Linked DNA regions of Homo sapiens: region 1 is linked to region 2. The links are contacts of gene promoters, found by promoter capture Hi-C in human tissues and cell types (Jung and others, 2019). All regions are on one chromosome and are shown on one strand. Each heading gives the region's core, a stretch centred on a gene start or on the middle of the fragment in contact. The rest is flanking DNA. Distances are from core to core; before and after follow the strand shown. Region 1 has its middle 9.4 kb from the start of ZNF723. Region 2 holds the start of ZNF99 (zinc finger protein 99).

Region 1 (6,616 bases), core at 3,138-5,637, 40 kb after region 2:
TCCCAGTTTTTAAATTATGGCACTCTTTTTTACTTTGTGAGTCCTGACCACAGAAAGCATTGCAACATATCTCTTGGCCTCTGACGTACAATATGTAACTATCCTGCCTAAAACCTATTTTCAGGGGGTGTTGTAACATATTGCTGAACCCACCATCTAGGTGATGTGACTGTCCCATACTGGATGGGCTCTGAGCAAAATGGGACTGTGATGTATCACTAGGGTCAGCACCTAAGTGAAGTGATTCTCCTCTTTTTCCCAGGCCCTGCATACATTGTGTATTGTGACATATGTGTGGGTCAAACACCTAGGTGATTTGACTCTTCTGCCTGGAGCTTTCATACAGCATACTATGACATGTCTTTTCATTTATTACCTGTGTTATGTGACTCTCCTTTTCTGCCTGGGCCATGCCAAAAGGGGGGATTGTAACATATCACTGGACCAAGCACCCAGGTGATGTGACTCTCCTATTTTATCCAGCCCCCACATATTTTTAGTATTCTGATACATGGCTGGGCCCAACACCTAGGGGTTGGAAATCTCCTTTCTCTGCCATGCTCACAGTGGACCTCATGACATATCTCTGCACGTGTCACTTAAAAGATGTGACCCTTTTCTGCCTGCACGCTGCCCATAGGAAAAATTGTGAAATACTCATGGGCCCCCAAACCAGGTGGTGTGTCTCTCCTGCCTAGGCCTTGTTCACAGGGAGAATTGTGACATATCACTGGACTCAGCACCCAAGTGATTTGACTCTGCTGCCTGTGCCCTGCTTTCATTAGAGGATATTCACATATCCCTGGCAGAAAACCAGATGATGTGACTCTTCTTCCGGGTCCCTTCTCTCAGAGAATATTATAATATATTCCTGACTCAAGACCCAGGTAATGTGACTCTCCTGCTTCCTTCCTATCCACAGGTGGGATTGTGACATATGTCTTTGTTCAGATCATAGATGCAATAATGACTCTAATACCTCAAACCATCCAATAAGAGATATACTGTCTCTTCTAGCTAGGTTTAGAGAAACAGGTAAGATCCTGGGTCTCCTGTTTGCATAAAAATAATATCAAATTACCACTCTCTTGCTTATGGTATAAAGCAGTTTGATGGGACAGAAAGTGTCATCATATGGTCCAGCACGGCACACACGTGATACGGTGTTTCTCATATGCACACCCTGTGAACCATTAGAACTGTCACCCTTACATATGAACAGAGCCCACTTTTGAGAACACAGGTAAAACTGTGACTCTCCTATGCACACTCAGCCAACAGTAAACATTGTCACCCTCCTAAATGGAAACCATCCACTGTTGAGGCTGTGAATCTCCCACGTGGAGGTAGTCAAAAGTTGGAATTGTGACTCTCATACATGGATCTTGTCCATAGGTAGAATGGTAACTCAATGAACAGGATTCAGCACAGCTGTGAGGCTGTGATTCAGATATTGAGACTCAGTTTGCATTTGAAATTGTGTCTTCACGCAGGAATACAGTCCACCATTAAGACGGTGACTCATGTACTTGGACCAAACATAAAGAAGGTCTTGACTTTCATACCTGGAGCCAGAAAATGTATGGAATTTTGAATCTCATTTCTGGACCTGCTTGCAGGCGTGATTGTGACATATACCTTGGTCCAGCACCTGAGTGATTTGACTATCCTGCCTGGGTAAAGCCTCAAAATGGAATTGTGACACATGCCTGGTGCAAGCATCTAAGGTATTTTACTCTCCTGCGTAGACCCTGTCCTCAGGGAGAATTGTGACATCCTGCTGGACCCATCGCCTAGGTTATATATTCTCTCCTGCCTGGGCCCTTTACACAGGGTGGATTGTGACATATTGCTGTGTCCTGCATGCAGATAATGTGACTTTCCTGCCTGAACCCTGCCCACAGAAGGCACTGTGAAATACTCCTGGGCCCAGTACCCAGGTTATGTGACTTTACTGCCACAGCCCTGCCCACAGAGTGGACATTGACGTATTTTTGGTCCAGCATTCAGGTGATCTGAATCTCTTGCCTGCTCCATTCACACAGCTTAAATTTAGACATATGTATTTTCAAGCTCTTAGACATTATAGTCAAGCTTATATGGGAACCCAGCCAATAAGAGTAATTTTGACTCTCTTAGCTAGATTTTGGACAGTGGGTAGAGTCCTGGATCACCTACGTTTAGAAAGGTCACAGAGGTTTATAAAATTTATGCATAATTGGCCAGGTGCAGTGGCTCATGCCTGTAATCCCAGTCCTCTGGGGGGCCAAGGCGGGTGGATCACCTGAGGTCAGGAGTTCAAGACCAGCCTGCCCAATATGGTGAAACCCCATCTCTACTAAAAATACAAAAAATTAGCCAGTTGTGGTGGTGTGCGTCTGTAATCCCAGCTACTCAGGAGGCTGAGGCAGGAGAATCACTTGAACCCGGGTGGCAGAGGTTGCAGTGAGCTGATATCATGCCATCGTACTCCAGTCTGGGTGACAAGAGCGAGACTCCATCTCAAAAAAAATTATGCATACTTTAGAAATACTTTGTGTGCTACAGAGAATGTAATAATAGGGTCTACCACACAGGTAAGATTGTGACTTCTCACAGGCATACCAAGCCAACAATTAGGATTGTCACTTCCAAACATGAAAGAAGCACACTGGTGATGTCCTGAACCTCACATGCAGATGCAGTTCACAGTTAAAATTCTGACTGTCATATGTAAATCTGGGAACAGGTTGAATAGTGACTGATTTCTGGACCCAGCTCAGAGGCACAGTGATTAGTTGCATTACCTGGACCTAGCCAATAGGAGATATGTTGACTCTTATAGGTAGCCTTCAAGCAATGGGCAAGGTCCTGGGCTTTCTACTTGTATGAAGGTCACAGAAGATTGTAAAACTCATGCATGTTGTATGATCCCTTCCAATGGTACAGAGAGTGTCATAACAGTTTCCAGCACACAGTTAAAATTGTGATTCTCAGCTGGGGGCAGTGGCGCATGCCTGTAATTCCATCAGTTTGGGAGGCCGAGGCAGGCGGATCACGAGGTCAGGAGATCAAGACCATCCTGGCTAACATGGTGAAACGCTGTCACTACTAAAAATACAAAAAATTAGCTGGGTGTGGTGGTGGGTGCCTGTAGTCCCAGCTACTCAGGAGGCTGAGGCAGGAGAATTGCGTGAACCTGGGAGGCAAAGCTTGCAGTGAGCTGAGATCGCGCCACTGCACTCCAGCCTGGACAACAGAGTGAGACTCCATCTCAAAAAAGAAAAAAATTGTGATTCTCATAGGCATACCCTGCCAACAATGAGGGCTGTCATTCTCACAAATGGAAAAAGACTTCTGGTTTGGTCCTAAATATCACATGTGGATGCAGTCCACAGTTGAAATTGTGACTGTTATATTTGGATCTGGCCACAGGTAAAATGGTGACTCACTTCTGTATCCAACTCACAGGCATAGTGAGAACTCTCACACCTGGATCTAGCCAATAAGAGAGATGTTAGCTCTCATTCCTGGGCTTAGGACAATGGGTAAGATTATGAGTTTATACCAGCACATAGATCCAAGAGTGGGTTGTGGCTCTCAGGCATACCGTATAAAGCCCTCAGGTGTCACCAAGAGTGTGGTAACAGGGCCCAGTGCACAGGTGAGATAGTGACTCTGGTATGCACGCCCAGTTCACAGTAAGAATTTTCACCTTCTTAAATAGCCACAGTCCACTGTTGAGGTTCTGAATCTCAAACTCAAAGGAGCTGAAAGTTAGAATTGTGACTCTCATATGAGGATCAGGTCCACAGACGAGATAGTGAATCTTGGACCAACATTCAACACACCGGTGAGGCTGTGACTCTTCTACCAGGACACAGTCTAAGAATTGAGGCTGTCATGCACAAATCCAGTCTACTATTGAGATTCTGACTCGCATACTTAGACCAAACACTCAGAAGATCTTGACTATGATCTCTAGAGCTGGAAGTGTTTGGGATTGTTTATCTCATCCCTGAATCTTTCTGCAGGTGTGATTGTGGCATATGTCTTTGCCCATACCCTGAGTGATTTTAGTTTCCTGCCTGAGCCCAGCCCATAGATGGAATTGTGACATATACCAAGGCCAAGCACCAAGGTAATATGACTCTTCTCATCTGCCTGAACCTGTCACTTAGAAGTAATTGTGACATATTTCTGAATCCAGCACGTGGGTGATGTGACTCTCCTCTTGTGCCTAGGCCTTGCCTACAAGAAAGATTGTGTCATATCACTGAGCCCAGCACCTATGTGATGTACTTCTTCTGCCATAGTTCTCCCCACATAAGACACTGTGACATATTTCTGGGCCAATTACATAAGTTAAATGAGTCTTTGCTTATGCCTGGATCTCACCCTCAGAAGAACTTATGACATGTTGCTGGACCCAGCACCTAGGTAATTTGAGTCTTCTCTGCTGCCTGGCCCCTGCCAACAGAAGGGATTTTAAACTATTGCTTAAACTAGCACATAAATTTTGTGACTCACTTCTTTTGCTAAGCCCTGCTAACCGTGGGAATTACAACATATTGCTGAAACCAGGATAATGCAACAATCCTCTCTTGCCTGGGCCTTGCCCACAGTGGGCATTGTTACATATTACTGGGCCCATCTTCTAAGTAATGTGACTGTCCTCTTCTGCTTGGGACCTGCAACATGAAAGACTGTGGAATATCGCTAGGCCCAGAACCCAGTTGGTGTGACTCTCTTCTTTCTTGATCCTGCTCATAGTGCAGATTGAGATATTCCTGTCCTAGCATCCAAGTGATGTGACTCTTCTTCCTGGTTCCTAGCTACAGGTGGGATTGTGACATATGCCTGGGACGTGGTCACTGGTACAATGATGACACCCACAAACTTCAACCCACAAACCAGGAGAAATATTGATTCTGTCTGCTAGGCTTTGGGCAACAGGTAAAGTCTTCGTCTGTTACTTGCATGAAAGGTCAGAGAAAATTACAATACTCATGCAAATTGTATAAAGCTTTCAGCTGGTGCAGAGAGTGTCATAACAAAGCCCAGCACACAGGTGAAATTTTGACTCTCAAATGCACACCCAGCCAATAGTTAGAATTTTTACCCACACACATGTTTTTAGCCTACAGTTAAGGTCCCAAATCTCACATGTAAATGCTGTTCACAGTTGGAATTGTGACTGGTATATGTGGATCTAGCCACAGGTAGGATGGTAATTAACTTCTGAACCCAACTGACAGGTGTAATGATGACTCTAATACCTGGATGCAGCAAATTAGAGAGAGGTTGACTCTAATACCTGTGCTTAGGGCAAGGGTACAATCATGGGTCATAACAGCACAAGAGTCTCAGAGCAGATTGTGACTCTCAGGAATATTATACAAAGCCTTTGAGTGGTACATGGAATGTCATAGCAGTACCAATCACGGAGGTGACATTGTGATTCTTATATGCACACCCACCCAAATGTAAAAGTTGTCACCCTCCCACAGGGACACTGATCACCTTGAGGTTCTGAATCTGACACTAAGAGGCAATCGAAAGTTAAAATTGTGACTCTCATATGTGGATCCCATCCACAGGTGGGGTAGTGACTCTTGAGAAAGAATTCAACATGCCGGTGAGCCTGTGACTTTCATACCAGGACACCGTCCTTGGGTGGGATTGGGACTCTCATTCACAGATCCGATATATCATTGAAATGGTGAGTCCTGTACTTGCACATAACTCACAGGAGATGTTGACTCTCATAACTAAAGCTGAGACATGTGCAGAATTATAAATCTAACCACAGAAGCTTCATGAATGTGTGATTTTTACAGACCTATTTGCCTAGCATTTGAGTAATTCCACTCGTCTGTGTAGGCCAAGCCCTTAGATGGTGTTGTGACATGAATTGAGTCAAGAATCTAGGTGATGTAACTTTCTTTCCTGGGTGCTGCCCTCAAAGGAGATTTTGACATATTGCTGGGCCCAGCACATTAGTGATGTGATTCTTTTCTCCTGCCTGGTTCCTACACACTGGGAGCATTGTGGCATATCACTGAGCCCAACACCTAGGTGATATGACTCTCCTCCCATGTCTGGGCCCTGCCCACATTAGGGATGGTGACATATCACTGGGCCCAGCACCCAGGTGAAGTGAATATCCTCTCCTGTTTGGCTTCTGCATACAGGGGCATGGTGACATACTGCAGTGCCCAACATTATGATAATGTGATTTTACTGCATGGGCAGTGTTCACAGGATGGTATTGTGACATGTAAGTGGACCCAGCACCTAGATAATGTGACTCTCCTCTCCTGCCCAGGCCCTGCTTATAGAGCAAATTACGACATATTGCTGAGTCTAGCACCTGGGTGATGTGACTCTCCTGCCTTAGCCTTGCTCACAGGGGACATTTTGACATATCTTTGGGTTCATCACCTAGATGATGTGACTCTCTTCTTCTGCCTGTGCTTTACCCACAGGAAAGCTTGGATCATATCACTGGGCTGAGCATCCAGGTAATCTGATTCTGTTTTTGAGCCTTGCCCACTGGGGGCATTGTGACATTTCACTAGGCCCAGCATTTAGGTGATGTGACTCTCTTGCCTGGGTCCTGCCCATAGGGGAACTG
Region 2 (6,507 bases), core at 1,837-4,336:
TTTTAACAAATGGAATATACAATTCAATATTAATTTTATTCTGAAACCCATCTCTTTTTTGCCCTTGGTTAAGTATTTTCTTACCTTTCAATCCCTACTAACAAAATGCAATTTACAGTTAAAAAACTGAGGTCAAAATAAGTGAACAAATCTTTTCAAGGTACAGATGTGTCTGATTCATGTGTCAAGTCAGGCCATCCAATCACTTAAGAGATTCTCCCACCCCATTCTCCTCACTTAAGTGCCCAATAACTCCTTCTCAGGAGACTCTGAACTATGCCCCAGTGAGTGCCCCAGGTAAGAACTTTTCAAGTTCTTACACCATCTCATTGGGGTCACTTTTTTTTTTTTTTTTTTTTTTTGTCGTTTGGGACACTATTTTTGATTTCACAGATTCTCACTATTTTTCTTTCACTATTTTTTCATTATATTTCACTATTGTTCTGCTCCCTTAAAGAATGCAGGGGGCAGAAATTATTTCTGTGTTTTCCCCGCAATACCAGCATCTGATTGGCTGACCAGCAATGTGTCTTCAAAAAATGGAAGCTGGGTTGGGTGAAGACAATCTTAATGTCTCAAGGGTTAGCTTTTCAAAGGAAGAGTATACCAGGAGAGACCTCTCAACCCCAGGGCATCTGCCTTCTTCGTTGAAAGGCTACACTCCACACCTCAGGTTGTCCTACTGGAGAAAATGACCAGGAGCTGATATTCACTAGACACTCTAGCAGACATAGCCATGGGGAATATTTTAGCTAATTCCCAGACAGTACTGAAACCCAGGACCAGGGAAAAAACTGAAGAATGGCTGAAAACACATCATAAAGTTTCCAAAGGAAAACCTTTACCTTTACCCCAAAACATTCTGCTAAAATCTGTGGAGCAAGGAGGAAAAAAAAAAAGCGGCACAAAGATTTTTTACAACACAGTGTCAGGGGATTATTTTTTGCTTTCTTCTCTTAGGAAATATTCACAAACAGAAAACAAATATTATGAAAAGTACCATCCAATGCTTTGTTAAAAAATAAAATACAGTATCAAAATGTACACTAAGGACAAATAGTAATGTGAATCAGAGAGGGAAAATTGACATTATGAACTGGAAGTTTAGTATTTTATTGCAAGCCAGAGTTAGGCTGCAGGAATTGGGGTTTGGGAGTAGACATAATACTCTGCTTGAGATACCTGTAAAAAATGGAGGGGAAAATCAGTCATCTGAGGAGTGTGAAAATAATTAAAAATAATTAAGTGGCAGGCAAATAGACTGAGGTGGCTCTAGTGCCTGATATCTACTTTTTTTTTTCTTTTTTTTTAAGACAGTTTCGGTCTTGTTGCCCAGAATGGACTGCAATGGCGCGATCTCGGCTCACCGCAACCTCTATCTCCCGGGTTCAAGCAATTCTCCTGCCTCAGCCCCACGAGTAGCTAGGATTACAGGTACAGGCATGTGCCACCACACCTGGCTAATTTTTGTATTTTTAGTAGAGATGGGGTTTCTCCATGTTGGTCAGGCTGGTCTTGAACTCCCGACCTCAGGTGATCCGCCTGCCTCGGCTTCCCAAAGTGCTGGGATTACAGGCATGAACCACCGCACCTGGCCTTTTTTTTTTTTTTTTTTTTTTTAATATGAGAGGGAGTCTCCCTCTCTTGCCCAGGCTGGTGTGCAGTGGCGCAATCTCAGCTCACAGCAACCTCTGCCTCCCGGGTTCAAGCGATTATCTGCCTCAGCCTCCCGAGAAACTGGGATTACAGGCATCTGCCACACTCCCGGCTAATTTTTGTATTTTTATTAGAGACGGAGTTTTACCATGTTAGCCAGGCTGGTCTAGAACTCCTGACTTCGTGATTCACCCGCCTCGGCCTCCCAAAGTGCTGGGATTACAGGTGTAAGCCACCGAGCCAGGCCTGATAATCTACTTTTTAAAAAATCTAATTCGGCCGGACGCGGTGGCTCATGTCTGTGATCCCAGCACTCTGGGAGGCGGAGGAGGGCAGATCACCTGACGTCGGGAGTTCGAGACCAGCCTGACCAAAACGGAGAAACCTCGTCTCTACTAAAAACACAAAAATTAGCCGGGTGTGGTGGCGGATGCCTGTAATCCCAGCTACTCGGGAGGCTGAGGCAGGAGAATCGCTTGAACCTGGGAGGCGGAAGTTGCGTTGAGCCGAGATCGCGCCACTGCACTCCAGCCTGGGCAACAAGAACAAAACTCCGTTTCAAAAAAAGAAAGAAAAAAATATTAATAATTCAAGTGCTTTTTTTTTTGTAAATTACTACATTGGGGGAAACAAAATTCAGGCTTAACCAACTATAAACTACAATTAACCTCTGATTATATAAACGGGAAATTTCCATCTTGATTGTACAAATTAAGAATCTACGTAACTGTACATAACCCATTACTGAATTTGGTTTTCTTCATTATGCACCTTATAAAACTCTTTCCGTCAAATCCCTTCCATAGACCATAAACTACAAACCACAGCTGGGTGCTCTGCCATTTTTGAATCACTCTTTGATTAAATCCTTTATTACTTTAGTGATGACTGCCATCAATTTTTAATAGGAGAAAAGAGGGACTGGAAACCTCACTGGACCAAAGCTCTTCCCATTCATGAACCCGCACCCGGAGTCAGGATTCTCCCCTGACGCCCCTCCCGTGGTCCCTGCACAATCTGTGAGAGAGGAGGCGCTGCGGGTGAAGAGCGGCCCAGAGAGGGCTCCAGGCCAGGGCATAGTCACAGTGCAGGAAGGAGGCAGGTCGCCCGGGGTCCCGCAGTCAGCGCAGCCGCCATCTTATGGCTGAAGGAGACTGAGGCCGAGCTGGGCAAGAGCTCGGGGCGCAGACTGTGGAGCTCACTGAGGGGAGGCCTGAGTCCCGCCACAGCCACTTTCCACCGGTTCCAGTCAGCCCCTTCCCCTTCTCAGGATATCGGACCCGGCACTCTCACCATTTCTAAGCTTCCAGGGGGTCCTGGCGTCCTAGCTGTGGATCTCCAAATACCTACAGGTCACAGGGCCACAGAGGCTAAGGACACAGAGCAGTAAAAACGAGATCCGGAGCTCCAGCTGGAACCAGAAACAACGGCCCCGCCACATCCCACAAGCCGCCCTTTCCGCTCCAGCTGAGTGCCTGATTGGACGGTTCCCAGCCCAGAGTCCCTGATTGGATAATGTTTAAATCCCCGCCTCCTCAGGCCCTGAGTGACAGAAGATGTGATCTGATGCTGAGCTGAATGAAGAGTGACGGGCCGGGCGCGGTGGCTCACGCGTGTAATCCCAGCACTTTGGGTGGCCGAGGCGGGTGAATCACCAGAGGTCAGGAGTTGGAGACCAGCCTGGCCAACATGGCAAAACCCGGTCTCTACTAAAAATAAAAATTAGGCTGGTGTGGTGGCGGGCGCCTGTAATCCCAGCTACTCCGGAGGCTGAGGCACGAGAATTGCTTAAACTCAGGAGGCGGAGGTTGCAGTGAGCCGAGATCGCGCCAGTGCACTCCAGCCTGGATGACAGAGCGAGATTCTGTCACGAAAAAAAGAAAAGAAAAGAAAAAGAAAGGAAAGGATGACAGTCTAGGCTGCAGCCTTTTCAGGCAGGGCTTCCTTCCTGAACTGAGCCAGGCCAACCCCAGAGGGTATTTGCATTTAACCTTTTGTATAAGGTCACATTCTTTTATAAATAATATATTATATGGTTATTCACAAATGAAAAGAATATAACAATTATCTAAAATTTTCAGAGTTTATGACCTTCCTGGCTTCTGGTTTTTTCATCAGATTGCCTGAGGTTTTAAAAAGAAGGCAATCCTCTGAAATAAAATTGTATTTTAAATTTTCTAGTAGCCAAACTTTAAAAATTAAAAAAAAAAAAAACAGGTGGAATTTATTGTAGCAATTTAATTAACCCAATATATCCAAAATATCATCTTAATACGTAAGCAAAATGTAAATTATAAATGAAGTGTAGATATTTTTTGGAACTTCATCTTTGAAACTAACTCTGTATTTTACCTTTCCAGCACATCACAGTTCAGACCAGCCACATTCCAGGCACTCAGTCGCCACACATGGCCAGTAGCTGCCACATTGAAGTGCAGCTCTGACCTTAGGAGAGGGAAGGGCCTGAACAAACCTTTTCTGCCAAAGATGGAAAAAGAGCCTTTCCCTACCAACATCTCTCTTCAGCTCTGAGGGAGGAACAGATAGTAGCCATAAATAAAGCACAGGACAGCAGGAAAAAACAACCACAGGTAGACCACTGCTGGCCACCTGTTGCCTACCTTTATTCCAGAGATCAGAAGGTGAACTAAGGATGGTAAGGCCACAGGAGAAGAAATCTCTGTGTCTTCAAATCTGTGCACAGTCTTGACCTCCAATGTTTAGATATGAAGAAAATAGATTAAAGGAAAACTTACTTTTCTATTTGTCCTTGGCCCTAATGGTCAGGCTGTGGTTATCTGTTTTCTCCTGTGGTATGGGGGACTGTGTGAGTATAGGCACCAATTACATGCATACATGTCCACATATATTTCTGCATTACTCAGCATTCTCTTACGAGGCCTCCAACTTTATATCAGGGGAAAAATCAGTACCTATAGGGTACCCACTGTTAGAAGAGAACTAGTAATCAACTTGTCAATGAATCCTGGCATCCTATCTGCACTGGGTGCATGTATTAATTAGCTATTGCAGCACAACAAATCATTCAAAACTTATTTGCTCATAATTGAGATGGTCAGCTATTTAGGGTGGGCTCAGTGAGGCTGTTCTTTTTGTCTCAGCTGAGCTCCTCCAGACATGTATCTTCAGCTGTTTGTTGAATAGGCAGCTGTGCTTCTGGGGATGAGCTTCTGCTTCTGGGGCTGTCAACAGGGGCAACTTGCTTCTCCTCCCCATGGTATCTTATCCTCCAGCTGGCTAACATGGGCTTTATTCATGGAGATGGCAGCATTCTGAAAGAAAAACAGAAGCATTCAAGACCTTTTGAGCCTACGCCCCAAACTAGTACATTGTCATGTTCACAGGTTTCTACTGCCCTGAGTGAATAAGGCCAGCAAAATCTAGGGTTTGAAAAGCATTCTGGATCTTGATGGGAACAGCTTTAAAAGCACCTACAATGGGCATGGATACAGGAAAAACTAGAAATTGCTACCATTTTTGAAATCAGTATCATTCTGCCTTTGTTTATTTGTTTGTTTGTTTTGCATATGTGGTTTATAGAACTCTTTCACATCAAGAATCTTGTCCAAAGACACACAGCTACTAAGTGGCTGGGCTGAGACTCAGGATCAACTCTGTCTGACTCCAAAGCCCACACACCTCCATAGATGACACTACTAAAGTAGCTGCCCTAGACCCTTGAAGTGTCCTGGAGGGTGACACTTCCACAGTAGAAGCCAGATTCCTTTTATTTTTTTTTTATTAATCTATTTCACTTCTTTTGAGACAGGGTCTCGCTCTGTCACCCAGGCTGGAATGCAGTAGTGCAATCTCGGCTCACTGTAACATCCTCCTCCCAAGTTCAAGTAATTCTCCTGTCACAGCCTTTCAAGTAGCTGGGATTTCAGGTGCTTGCCACCACACCTGACTAATTTTTGTATTTGTAGTAGAGACGGGGTTTCAGCATGTTGGCCAGGCTGGTTTCAAGCTCCTGACCTTAAGTAATCTGCCTGCCTTGGTCTCCCAAGGTTCTGAGATTACTAACATGAGCCACTGTGCCCAGCCTACATTCCTTTTACATTTGTGCCAATATAGTACTGTTTATCATTGGGAATAATCCTCTCAAGAATTTGCAGAAGTGCACAGTGGCTCACACCTGTAAACCTAGCATTTTGGGAGGCTAATGTGGAAGAATTACATGAGCTCAGGAGTTCAAGTGCAGGCTGGGTAACATAGTAAGAACCTGTCTTCACAAAAAAAAATTTAAAAATTAGCCGGACATGGTGGTACATGCCTGTAGCCCCAGCTACTCAGGTGGCAGAGGCAGAAGGATCGCTTCAGCCTGGAGGGTCAAGCTGCAGTGAGCCATGTTTGGATACACCACTGCACTCCAGCCTGGGTGATAGAGTAAGATGTTGTCTCAAAAAAAAAAAAAAAAAAAAAAGAATTTGCCAAAGCATTTTAAAAAGACATAGAATACTGGCCGGGCATGGTGGCTCAAGCCTGTAATCCCTGCACTTTGGGAGGCCGAGGTGGGTGGATCACCTGAGGTCAGGAATTCAAGACCAACCTGGCCAACATGATGAAACCCTGTCTCTACTAAAAACAAAAAAATTAGCCAGGCGTGGTGGCGGGTGCCTGTAATCCAGCTCCTCAGGAGGCTGAGGCAGAAGAATCACTTGAACCCAGGAGGCAGAGGTTGCAGTGAGCCGAGATTGCGCCATTGCACTCCAGCCTGGGCAACAAGAGCGAAACTGCATCTCAAAAAATAAAAAAAAAAGACATAGAATACTTTGTGTTTGTAGCTGATGGATAAGTTTAGAAAATCGAAACCCAACAACAGATTATTTT

The links. Contacts are between HindIII fragments. The study calls those that stand out against the background at their distance.
Region 1: a fragment that was not itself captured here is called in contact with the fragment with the promoter of ZNF99 in region 2 in 4 of the 25 tissues and cell types used here (dorsolateral prefrontal cortex, liver, mesendoderm cells and 1 more).

What each region holds. Positions count from the first base shown.
Region 1 is chr19:22,819,607-22,826,222 of GRCh38, forward strand. It overlaps a transcript of ZNF723 not described here. Among named protein-coding and RNA genes, the nearest start is that of ZNF723, 9.4 kb to the right of the region's middle. The HindIII fragment of the contact is 3,491 bases long and covers 2,643-6,133 here.
Region 2 is chr19:22,781,065-22,787,571 of GRCh38, forward strand. ZNF99 (zinc finger protein 99) reads right to left here and starts at 3,087. Exons shown (of 4, transcript NM_001080409.3): 1 at 2,950-3,087. The coding sequence starts at 2,952. The HindIII fragment of the contact is 12,356 bases long and covers 1-6,507 here.